2 separate regions of the Homo sapiens genome follow, and region 1 is linked to region 2. Evidence: promoter capture Hi-C in 16 types of primary human blood cells and fetal thymus (Javierre and others, 2016). All regions are on one chromosome and are shown on one strand. The core of a region is centred on a gene start or on the middle of the fragment in contact, and the rest is flanking DNA. Distances in the headings are between cores, read along the strand shown.

The links. Contacts are between HindIII fragments. The CHiCAGO score rates a contact against its expected background, and 5 or more counts as called.
Region 1: a contact is called between a fragment that was not itself captured here and the fragment with the promoter of TIMM10 in region 2, in 4 of 17 cell types (total CD4 T cells, non-activated CD4 T cells, total CD8 T cells and 1 more). The highest score is 10.2, in total CD4 T cells.

The regions. Positions count from the first base shown.
Region 1 is chr11:58,548,450-58,555,073 of GRCh38, reverse strand. LPXN (leupaxin) reads left to right here. Exons shown (of 9, transcript NM_004811.3): 4 at 134-233; 5 at 3,842-4,009; 6 at 4,928-5,101; 7 at 5,207-5,288. Among named protein-coding and RNA genes, the nearest start is that of LPXN, 24 kb to the left of the region's middle. The HindIII fragment of the contact is 2,421 bases long and covers 2,083-4,503 here.
Region 2 is chr11:57,529,153-57,535,401 of GRCh38, reverse strand. It overlaps TIMM10 (translocase of inner mitochondrial membrane 10), which reads left to right and starts at 4,648. Exons shown (of 3, transcript NM_012456.3): 1 at 4,648-4,744; 2 at 5,168-5,283. The coding sequence starts at 5,213. RefSeq lists an enhancer at 4,469-4,648. The HindIII fragment of the contact is 3,024 bases long and covers 4,475-6,249 here.

The DNA of each region.
Region 1 (6,624 bases), core at 2,044-4,543, 1.0 Mb before region 2:
TACCCCCATCTCTGATTTTAGCTTCATATCCAGGGGATTCATTATTACAGTTGCATTTCCAGTACTTTATGTGTGGTTTAACATTATTTGAGTTTTGATTTGTTCATATGACTTTTTTGTTTTCCCTCTATAGTGAAGCCCAAGAGCCAAAGGAATCACCACCACCTTCTAAAACGTCAGCAGCTGCTCAGTTGGATGAGCTCATGGCTCACCTGACTGAGATGCAGGCCAAGGTGAGTGCAGGCCAAGGTGAGTGCAGGCCAAGGTGAGTGCAGTCCAGATGATAAACAGGGCCCATGGGGTCACCAGTTTATCTTTGTGGAACTCAGCTCTCCATTCTCCCACTTAGGAATTTTCCTAAGTTGTCATTGCTTTTTTCAGACTAAATTTAATTCCATGAATTAACCCATCTTTGTACTATGTGTTATTTGGACACAAAAATTAATATATAATACAGACTTTGATCTCAAGGAGCTGGAGTGTGCTTGGCAAAATGAGGCATAAGTTTCTTAACATTTATAGAATAAAAGCCAGGTGTTTTGCAAACATATGTGGAGCAAACATTACGGATATAGAGAGATTTTGGAGATTTAATCAGAGTTGAAACTTGGGATGGACTCTGAAGAACTGGCAGAGTTTGGACATAAAGAGATGGGAAGAAAGGTGGTTTTAGTTGCAATGAGTCCTGAGGGCAGAGGTATCTAAGGCTTGATGATGTGGAAGGATTTTTCATTTGTTTGTTTGTTTGTTTGTTTGTTTTTGAGATGGAGTCTTGCTCTGTTGCCCAGGCTAGAGTGTAGTAGCGCTATCTTGGCTTACTGCAACCTCCGCCTCCCAGGTTCAAGCGATCCTCCTGCCTCAGCCTTCCGAGTAGCTGGGATTACAGGTGCCCACCACTGTGCACGGCTCATTTTTGTTGTATTTTTAGTAGAGACGGAGTTTCACCATCTTGGCCAGGCTGGTCTCGAACTCCTGACTTCGTGATCCACCTGCCTCGGCCTCCCAAAGTGCTGGGATTACAGGCGTGAGCCACTGCGCCCGGCCAAAAGGACTGTTAAAGAGACCTGACTAAGCAGGACAGAGGAGACCAGTGAGCAAGCTGAGACACAGCAAGGGAGATCAAAGTATGGCTCTGACAGTAGGAAGGATGAGAAGTCCCAAGCCCATATTGAGATAAAATCTGCCTCTTTGTTCTAGCCTCTAGAACACCTCTAAAGTGGTGAGCTCACATAGTCGGGCATGGAATGGAAATCTCAGATAAATGGGCTTAAAGATTTATTAAAGGAAATATAATCCAGAATCCTTAAGGTGGAGAATCCAACCATTTTAAATCTGGTTGGAGGATTTGATATATACTCATGAGATGACTATGAAATAATTTCAAAGCAGTATATAAAAATGTATATGATTGGAGAGGGCAGGGACCTTATCTTTAGAGCTCACCTTGGGACTCCCAATGCTCAGCACAGGGCCTGATACATCGTGAGCAACACATATTTATTAGAGAGATGAGTAAATAAACATCACAAACAAGTTTTCCTTAATGACTGACATCCTTTGATGGGCCAGTGTCTACAATAAAGCTGGGTAGATTGGCTCATTATGCTGTATATCTGAAAATACTAGAAAAAATGTACATTAGATTTAATTGTGTTGCGTTTCTAGTTGATTTAGCTTGTGTATTGGTTGATTTAAATTTTTAATTTACAACACCATCTTTTTTTTTTTTTTTTTTTTTGAGACAGATTCTTACTCGGTTACCCAGCCTGGAGTGCAGTGGCATGATCTCGGCTCACTGCAACCTCCACCTCCTGGGTTCAAGCGATTCTAGTGCCTCAGCCTCCTGAGTAGCTGTGATTACAGGCGTGTGCCACCATGCCCAGCTAATTTTTGTATTTTTAGTAGAGACGAGGTTTTGCTATGTTGCCCAGACTGGTCTCAAACTTCTAAGCTCAGGCCACCTGTCTGCCTCGGCCTCTCAAAGTACTAGGATTACAGGCATGAACCACTGTGCCCGGCCCCATTTATCTTTTGAATAAGCTGCACTTTCACATTGTACACAAATCAAAAGTGCAAAAAGCTTGCACTGAACTGTTTCCTTCTCAGCTCTGCACCCTAGCCATCCAGTTCTGCCCCACCGGAGATAGGCAGAATTTCCTGTCTCTTCTATATCTGTTCAGAAGTATTCTGGAAGATAACAGTGAAGAGATAGAGATGTAGGTGTAGATGTAGTTATATTGTATTTTTACTTATTTTTCATAATTAATGTCAGTCACCCTTTCAGACCTTTCAGACACTAACCTTCTGAACACTAACCTCTTGAATATTAACTAACATATATTAGAGAAGGAAGGATGTCTGTCAGATGATCAAAATGTCTCGAAGCAAAATGAGCATTTTGATTGGTGACAGTGTGATGTTATAACAGGCAGTAAAAGTAGGATAAGTAGAGGTCTTAAGGCAGACAGTAACAGATCACATTCAGGAGATGAAGAGCCCAGCTGTCCTTTTACAACATAGTATTAATAAAAGATGAAATTGGGAAAGATAAAAAGGGAGGACAGTGGATGGGAGGCTTTGAATGTCTGTCTGATGAGTGAAGACTTGATGTGGTGGCAATGGAGAGCCATTGTAGTTTTCTGATGAGTGAAGTATTCAGTAGATAGATGGTAGCAGTCGCCCAGCTGGAAAGGAGTAGAGAGAGCCAGAATCAGGTTATGAGGTTATGAAGGGTCAGTTAGCCTTTTTTTTTTTTCTTTTAATTTGAGGATCCTTCTTTGAATGGTTTATAATAATTTTGGGCTTTTGCTTAAATAATTCCAATCCATCAACAAGTCTTATCTGACCACTTCTCACCACCTTCTCCTGTAATACTGATCTAAGTCATTATCTGAAAATCTCCCTGTATTCACTCTTGCTTGTCAACACTTAGTTCTCCACTCAGCTACCACAGGGATCCTCCAGATTCCTTCACTCCTGTGCTTGAAATCCTGCAATGGCTTCCATCACCTTGGAATAAAACCCAAGCGTTTACCATGAGGTTCCTATGTGATCTTTGCCTCTCTCTCCATCACCTTCTCCTGCCGTGTTCAATCTCACTCCCTCTGCTCTAGCCCCACTGACCTCTTTGACTTTTCTTCTAATGTGCCAAGTTGTTTTATTCCTCGGGGCCTTCCCTTCCCCTAGAATGCTTTTCCCATAAATGTCAATATTTCTAAGTCCCAAGTATCTACTCAAATATTACTTCCTTAGAGGGGCCTTCTTTGATTATTACCTCCATCTAAATCAATTCTTCTTACCATCTTGCTGTGTCCCTTCTATCTCTTTCTATAACTTATCTCTGTCTGACATTACAACATATATTTATTTATTTAATTATTTATTGTCTATCGCCCACAGAATGCAATTCCATGAGGCCAGACACTTGGTCTGTCTTATCTTTGCTTTAATCCAAGTGCTTAGAGCAGTGATTGGCACAAACCAGGTATTCAACAATTATTGCCAAATAAATGAGTAAAAGGGAGATGTGACTAATTTTTGAACTGGGGTCATCCTAAGATCTTCAAAGGGTATCATCTTCATGTACTAAATTTCCTACATTAAGAAAAGATTTACAAATATAAAATTAGTCAGATTTCATTTGGCCTGAGGAGTTTAGGATGAAAGGGAGATGAAAAGATTTTTATTGGTGTTGAAATTTTAGATTTTTCCAATGTCTTGCAGGAAGGTTGGGGAAAGGCCAAGAGATCAGTCAGTAGAGGTGAATTTATAGAGTCATTAGAAGATGCCAATGAGAATAAAAATGAGGCTGATTCTGTTCTTGGTTCTTCCCTTGGGCCAGGTTGCAGTGAGAGCAGATGCTGGCAAGAAGCACTTACCAGACAAGCAGGATCACAAGGCCTCCCTGGACTCAATGCTTGGGGGTCTGGAGCAGGAATTGCAGGACCTTGGCATTGCCACAGTGCCCAAGGGCCATTGTGCATCCTGCCAGAAACCGATTGCTGGGAAGGTGAGATGGGCTGAAATTTTGGTCCTACAGCCTTCTTTGTCTCTCTCTGTCTCATCAAGGTTTGCTCTTTCCCCTTATATTTTAAGATATTTTAGTTAGCATTAATAATTACTAATCACTTACAGTGCTCTGGCCACTGAGCTAAGTGCTTTACAAGTATTTCCTCATTTAATGGTCACATCAGCCCTTCAAGAAGAATGATTGCTCCCTTTGTAAAGATGAGGAAACTGAGGACTCAGAGACATTAATGGACATATCCAAGGCATAATAAGAGGTAGAGGTAAGATCTGAAACCAGGAGACTGTCTCCTGAGTTTGAGTTCTTGACCATTTTTCTGTACTGCCTTTACTGAGATGACCTTTCTCACTGCTCCCTTTGTTCACACATTCCCAGTCTAAATTGATTGATTACAATTTTCAGCTGAACTCAGCTCCAAGTCACAGCTGCAAACTCCTGTTCTGCATCGTCCTTCACCGAAGCTATGATAAAAAGCTTTGAGACCTGACTGCATGGGGCGTGGAATAAAGTGTTCAAACTAGAGGAATAAAAACTGTCATTTGGCCTTTTCCTCTTCCAGGGGTCCCTTCCACACTAAGGCTACAGTTACAACTTCTCTGTCATCAATGTGCTATATGTTGTTTCTGCCACCCCCTGTGGCAGTGCAGTGGTTGTGAACATTTACAGGCTTTCATCACAGTGATCAGTCCCGGAAGTGGGCATCCTTTTATTATCAATCCATAAAGCACAGACCACAGATGGCCTTAGGTGGAACCTAGGTCTAGGCCTCAGTGTTGTATAATTCCAGGGCGTGTTGTCTACAAGGGGTACAATGTGAAGAGTGCTCCCTAGAGTTGTGCAACCTGTAGGCTGTAGAGCACTCAACTGGCCTCCTGTGTCAGGCTTTATTTCACTCCACAGGTGATCCATGCTCTAGGGCAATCATGGCATCCTGAGCATTTTGTCTGTACTCATTGCAAAGAAGAGATTGGCTCCAGTCCCTTCTTTGAGCGGAGTGGCTTGGCCTACTGCCCCAACGACTACCACCAACTTTTTTCTCCACGCTGTGCTTACTGCGCTGCTCCCATCCTGGATGTAAGTAAATCCCCGCTCCTCTCCAGCTTTCAGTCACTCACTTAGAACCAGAGTCATGCTTTACAACTTCTGCATCATTATAATATCTGTGTGTTCCCTTTCCAGAAAGTGCTGACAGCAATGAACCAGACCTGGCACCCAGAGCACTTCTTCTGCTCTCACTGCGGAGAGGTGTTTGGTGCAGAAGGTATGACCCGACTTGAGAGGCTGTATCCCACACCCCAGTGGGTAGTTATAAGACCAGCAACACCTTTCCTGGTAGTCACGGGAGTCCTGGTTCCTATCAGTACTATCAAAGTGCCCATTTCAGTACTAGATACCATCCCTCCCTACCTTTCTCCAACATTTATAATTTCCCTTTAAATTGATTTTTTAAATCACAGAAATACAAATGCATAGTTTAAAAACTCAAATATTACTTCAAGGGTAATATTGAAAAAGCCTTTTCTTGTTGAATATTGAAAAAGTCCCTTTCTCATCTCCAAATCCAGTTCTCCTCTCCAAATTATTTTAGCTGTTTCTTCTGATATTTACTTATTTTTTGTTGTTGTTGTTGTTTGTTTTTTTGAGACGGAGTCTCACTGTGTTGCCCAGGCTGGAGTGCAGTGGTGCGATCTCTGGTGCGATCTCCGCCCACTGCAACCTCCACCTCCTGGGTTCAAGCGATTCTCCTGCCTCAGCCTCCCAAGTAGCTGGGACTACAGGCACTTGCCACCACACCCGGTTAATTTTTGTATTTTTAGTAGGGACAATGTTTCACCATATTGGCCAGGCTGGTCTTGAACTCCTGACCTCGTGATCCGCCCGCCTTGGCCTCCCAAAGTGCTGGCATTACAGGCATGAACTACTGCGCCTGGCCTGCTTATGTGTTTTAAATAATAACTTTATATTGTTATAGATTGTTTTATTTTTCCAGTTTTAACCATTATGTATTGACTGTCTAAGAGGGAAGATGAGGTTTAGAAATGTTATTATTACCCCACTCACTCCTAACATATTTCCCCTCCCCTGTTTTTTCAATATATAATTATGTCATAATTACAGGTTAGATCAGTATTAAGTGTGCATATGTTGACAATCATAGAATACTGCTCACAAGTAAGCCATGTAGCAAACTGACTACACTAGAGTCTGGATTTTAGAGTCAGACTTCCAGGTTCAAATCTGGGTTGTGGTATTTGTTCAAGTCATTTAACATCTCTGTACCTTACTTTCCTCATCAGTAAAATAGTCCTAATGAAATTGCCTACCTTATAGGGTTGTTATGAGGATTTAGAGACAATACAAGCGTGGTATTTAGAATAGTGCCAAGCACATGGAGGTATAGTAGTGTTAATATTATTATCACAGTGTCCTTTTGGTATAAATTCATTTTTTTCTAAAGTTAACATTTGAATCCTTTTTGAAATTGGCTTAGTTTTTATTGTACTTATCACTAAGTTATGCAACAGAACTGTGAAATTCTTTTCAAAATGGCCAACTACATCTGGCAACAAGTCAGTTTCTTTCTTTTCTTTTTTTTT
Region 2 (6,249 bases), core at 3,399-5,898:
TTTGCAAGGTTGGGAAGGGGTAGAATGCAGGGTAGAATGAGGAGCCAGAGTTTCAGCATGGTGTTGACAGAGATCAGTAGCTTTGGATGACATATCTGGAGTCTAAGGATATCTTCAAAGTCTGAGGCTATCTAAACTGTCTTCTACAAGAAGCAATTCAACTGGGACCATTGGAGATTCCTACCTGTAGGTCTCCACATAGAGGAAAGACACAGTCTCATAGTAAATAATCATAATAACAATAGCATCATCATCAATAAGAGCAATGGTTTTCCAGAGGCTGAGCAGCTGGGGAGATGGAGAGTTGCTGTTCAATGGGTATACAATTTCAGTTATGCAAGATGAATAAGTTCTAGAAATCTGTGTACAATATGGTACATATAGTTAACAATACTATTTTGTGCACTTAAAAATTTGTTGGCCGGGCGCGGTGTATAAAGCACTTTGGGAGGCCAAGGCAGGTGGATCATGAGGTCAGGAGACTGAGACCATCCTGGCCAACATGGTGAAACCCCATCTCTACTAAAAACACAAAAATTAGCTGGGTGTGGTGGCATGCGCCTGTAGTCCCAGCTACTTGGGAGGCTGAGTCAGGAGAATCCCTTGAACCTGGGAGGCAGAGGCTGTAGTGAGCGGAGATCGTGCCACTATCCTCCAGTCTGGTGACAGAGCGAGACTCCGTTTAAAAAAATTTTTTTTGTTAAGCAGGGCCCAGTGCAGTGACTCATGCCTGTAATGCCAGTGCTTTGGGAGGCTGAGGCAGGAGGATCGCTTGAGGCCAGGAGTTTGAAACCAGCCTGGACAACATAGCAAGACCCTATCTCTACAAAAAATTTTAAAAACCACTCAGGCATGGTGGCTTGCGCCTGTAGTCCTAGCTATTCAGGAGGCTGAGATGGGAGGATTGCTTGAGCCCAGGAGTTTAAGCTAACAGTGAGCTATGATTGGGTCTCTGCACTCCAGGCTGAGCGACAGAGACCCTGTCTCAAGGAAAAAATAAATAAATAAAAGGGCTTTATCTGTTAGAGATAAAAATAGATGAAGAAAATATGGACAAATGTTAACAATTCCTAAGTCCTGGTGATGAATATATGGAAGCTCAATGTCCTGTTCTCTCTGCTTTTCTGTATGTTTTAAATATTCCATCTGGGCATGGGGTGGCTCATGCCTGTAATCCCAGCACTTTGAGAGGCCAAGACAGGAGGATTGTTTGAGCCCAGGAGTTTGAAACCAGCCTGGGAAACATGATGAGACCCTATCTCTTAAAAAAAAAAATTAGCCAGGCATGGTGGCTCATGCCTCTAGTTCCAGCTACTTAGGAGGCTGAGGTAAGAGGATTGCTTAAGCCAAGGAGTTCACGATTGCAGTGAGCACTGATCATACCATTGCACTCAAGCCTGGGTGACAAGGCAAGATCCTGCCTCAAAAATCCTAAGTAAAAATAAAAATAAATTTGCCCCAGTGAAAGTTTAAAAATGAAAAAGAATGAAAACAATGATTTATTTTTATTGAGCATCTACCATGGACTAGGTACTTTACTTACACAATCTTTTATATAAATATTTTTCTTTCTTTCTTTATGGCCAGCTCTTACTCATACTTGTATAATCTTATTTGTTTTCTTTTTTGTAGAGATTTTTAAAACTTTTTATTTAGAAATAATTATAGTTTCACAGGAAGTTGCATTAATAGTACAGAGAGGTCCTGTACGCCCTTTACCAACTTCCACTAAAGGTTAAATCTAACATAACTATATTCAATATCAAAGCCAGATAATTTATATTGGTACAATGTGTGTGTGTAGTAGTTCTATGACTTTTTTTTTCTTTCTTTTTTTTTTTTAGACCGAGTCTTGCTCTGTCGCCCAAGCTGGAGTGCAGTGGCACAATCTCGGCTCACTGCAACTTCTGCCTCCCGCCTCCCGGGTTCAAGCGATTCTCCTGTCTCGCCCTCCTGAGTAGCTGGGACTATAGGCGCATGCCACCACACCCGGCTGATTTTTTTTATTTTAGTAGAGACGGGGTTTCACCATGTTAACCAGGATGGTCTCGATCTCCTGACCTCGTGATCCACCCGCCTCGGCCTCCCAAAGTGTTGGGATTACAGGTGTGAGCCACCGCGCCTGGCTTTTTTTTTTTTTTTGAGACGGAGTCTCACTCTGTCGCCTGGGCTGGAGTGCAGTGGCACGATCTCGGCTCACTGCAACCTCCACCTCCCGGGTTCAAACGATTCTCCTGCCTCAGGCTCCTGAGTAGCTGGGGTTACAGGTGCCCGCCACTACCCCCAGCTAATTTTTTGTATTTTTAGTAGAGACGGAGTTTCACCAACAAGGCTGGTCTCGAACTCCTACCTTGTGATTCGCTCGCCTGGGCCTCCCACAGTGCTGGGATTACAGGCGTGAGCCACCGCACCCTGCCAGTTCTATGACATCTTATCACCTGTGTAGATTCTTGTAACCACCACCACAATCAGGATACAGAATTATCCATCAACACAAAGATCTCTCTTGTGCTACCCTTTACAGGTACACTTCTATCTCCCCATCAACCCTAACACTAGACAATCAGAAATCTCTTCTCCATCTCTATAATTTTGTGATTTTGAGAATGTTACTTAAATGAAATCATACAGTATGCAACCTTTCATAAGGCCCAGTAGATATTGCAAGATTCCTCTTGTAAGAAACCATCTCCTTTTCCCACGCAGTTTCTTAACTTTCCATAATGTTTCTTTTTTGCGGGGAGTGGGGGGTCGGAGTTTCACTCTTGTTGCCCAGGCTGGAGTGCAATGGTGCGATCTTGGCTCACTGCAACCTCTGCCTCCCGGGTTCAAGTGTTTCTCCTGCCTTAGCCTCCTGCTTAGCCTCTTGAGTAGCTGGGATTACAAGCACCCGTCACCACACCGGGCTACTTTTTTGTATTTTTAGTAGAGATGGGGTTTCACCAAGTTGGCCAGGCTGGTCTCGAACTCCTGACCTCAGGTGATCCACCCACCTCAGCCTCCCAAAGTGCTGGGATTACAGGCGTGAGCCACTGCACCCGGCCAATGTTGACTATATTTTCAAAGGCAAAAACCAAGGCAAGATATGTCCATCTGTACAAGAGTATCATAGCAGCATTATTGCATAATAGGCAAAAACTGGAAACAATCCAAACATCCACCAACGGGAGAATGGATAGATGAATTGTGGCATACTCATACAATCAAACACTAGACAGCAATAAAACAGAAGGAATAACAGATGCACACAACAATATGGAGGAAATCTTACAGGTACATTGAGCTAAAGAAGTCAGGCACAAAATAGAAAATAATGTATAATTCCATTTACACGAAGTTCAAGAACAAGGAAAACTAATTGATGGTGATAGAGGTCAGAATAGTGGTTAACTTCGAGAGGGGGTATTGATGGGGAAGGAACACAAGATAACTTTTTGGGGTGCAGGAAGTATTTTATATCTTGATCTGGATGGCGGTTATACAAATGTACATATATAGATACATATATATTTAATTAAGCTTAACATTCGTGTATTTTATGCACTTTATGAATGTTATACCCCAATCTTTAAAAATCAGGGCACAAGTTTGGCAAAGATGAGTCTTCAAAGCAGTAGAAAGGTCAATTGTTTAAAATTAGGATGGTCTTGGACAATTAGGGAAGCTTATGATGACCACACAGAAAATGTCTAGCCCACCTTTTCCAATGGGCAATGTGCCCTTGCGTCATTAATTTACATCTTGTAAATTTATTTTACCAGGAAATTGTGTGACAAATCAAGGGACTGAGTATTGTTTCCTTGTTTCCTTCTTTTTAGTGGGGAATGAGTGAATGGTGCAGTTTGAAGAACACATTAAGTCTTGAAAGTTGGAAAGTTCACCAGTACCCTTCTTTCCCTCACCCAAGATTAGCCCTGGTGGCAGCCGAAATTGCTTTTATTATCTCTTTGTGGCTGAGGACCTCTAACTGTTGAAGAAAACATATTTTACACGTCTTGTCTTTCTGCGAACAGGAAGCCTATCTCGCTTATCTTTGCAACCCCAGACGGGGCTTAGTGTGACCTACACACAGCAGTAATCGCACAACGTCCCGTGGAGCACTGCTTCTCAAATTTGGCTGTACATACGAATCACCTGGGGAATTTTAAATTGTATTGCTGCCTGAGGAATTTTAAACTGTACTCCCAGAGATTCTGATTTAATTGAAATGAGGTGAGTCCTGGGCACTGGGATGTTTAAAAACGTTCCAGGTGATTTTAACGCGAAACAAAAACAGAACCGCTGTTTGGGGGCGTTCTTCCTTCTCCACGCCTGATTTGCGCACAGGAGTCGGCTGTCTGGAACGGGGGTGAGGTTCACAGGTGTCTGTCGCCACGCCTCTTCCTACAGAACCAATAAACTGAAGCCGCTCGGTGACATCCCAAAGGACTTGAATTCTGATCGGGCTGCAGACGCTCTGCACCCCGCCCAAGCTTCTATGGTACTTTGGTGTCCTCTCTAGCACTGGCAAGTCGCCTTCCTCTTCGCCCGGCGCCAGCCGCTCCCTCTCTATGATCGCCGAGTTCCCGGCGCCGTCTCGTTGGTATTTAATTCCGGAAGCGAGTTTGAATCAAAGAAGAGGCGGGACTTTCCTCCCGGAAGTAACCCACGTGCTTCCGCTGGAGCCTCTCGGGAGGCGGGTAACGTTATAGTATTTGTCAGAAGTTGGGGTCTCCGTGGGCATTGTGATCCGTCCCAGGCAGTGGTAAGTGACACATGACCTCTGAATTCAATGTGGCCCTGATGATGGCGTCGCCATTTCAGAGGTGTAGCCTTTGGGCTGGGTCCCGGTCGCCTCTGTTCAGCGTATGATCCCATTCCCAGGGCCCTGGAGGTTCAGGTTCGTGGGTTAGAGAGTTCTCCTCCGGTCCTCGATCTCCTGAATAGAGGTGACCTCCAGGAACTGGGGCATCAGAGATCCGGGGCTCGATTTCCAGGCTCGCCATAGACGTCCTGTGCGACCTTGGGCTAGGCCTCAGTTTCCACATCCGTGAAATGGGGTGGTTAAGCTCACTGAGGTTAGTGGCCCGTGGTGGTCTGGCGCCCTGTGAGTCCTCTGTATCCTCTAGCCCCAGGGGTAGGAGAGTGAACGGCGGCGGTGGGTGCTGATGGTGATGTCTGCTCCCAGGATTAGGAGGCCAGAAGGAGATCCCTTCCACGGTGCTAGGCTGAGATGGATCCTCTCAGGGCCCAACAGCTGGCTGCGGAGCTGGAGGTGGAGATGATGGCCGATATGTACAACAGGTAAAGAGAACTATGTGCTACCCTGTCTTGGAAAATAAGTCTTGGTCACCCTTATCGAAGGTGAATGACTTATGACAAATTCCTTCCTGAATGTAGGGGAGCCTGAGGCCCATGCTTACCCTCCCCACACCCACCTTCAAGGTTGATCCTAATGTAGATGCAGTAAAGGGTCACTAGAATGAGTTGGGCATTTAGATGGGGATGGAACTGGCAATGCAGGAGCCAAGCAGGAAGAGAAACTCCAATCCAGGCTCTGGTTAGGTTCCAAGAAAAGCTGAGTATTTGCCTCTTGACAAATAGCACATAGCCAGCCCATTTAGTAGTTAACATTTTAAAACCCTTTATTCTGTGTCAGGCACTTGTTAATCTTCAAAATAATCCAGTGGGTTAATTTTATTAGTCCCGTCTTAAAATGAGGAAATTGATGATTCTAGAGGTTAAGTAACTTCCTTAGGGTCGGCAGCTGGTCAGTAACAATGCCAGAACTAGCACCTCAGTCTGATTCTGCAACTAGTGCTCATAACCATTTGGCAAATTTGGGAACAAATCCTGGCTCCACCAATCACCAGCAGTATAATTGGACATGTTACTTGCACTGTTTGACAATTGGTTTCCTCATTATGAAGAAGACATAATGATACCTACCTCATAGGACATCATAAATATTAAATCTAAAAATATATGAAAGCCCTTAGCCTCAAGCCCAACACTTAGTGAAATGTCTGCTATTTTTATTGGCTTAAGCTCTCTTGATTGGTTGGTTTATCCTGAAGGCTATAAATTAGAAGGATTTTTAAGTGTAGACTGTGAGGTCAGATGACCTGGCTTCATAACCCAGCTCTGTGTGATCCTTAGAAAATTACTGAGCCTCTGTTTGCCTTAATTTCCTCATCTGTAAAATGGGGATACATGTCTCTTAGGGTTATTGTAAGCATTGCATAACAGAATGCAGGTAAAGCACTTAGC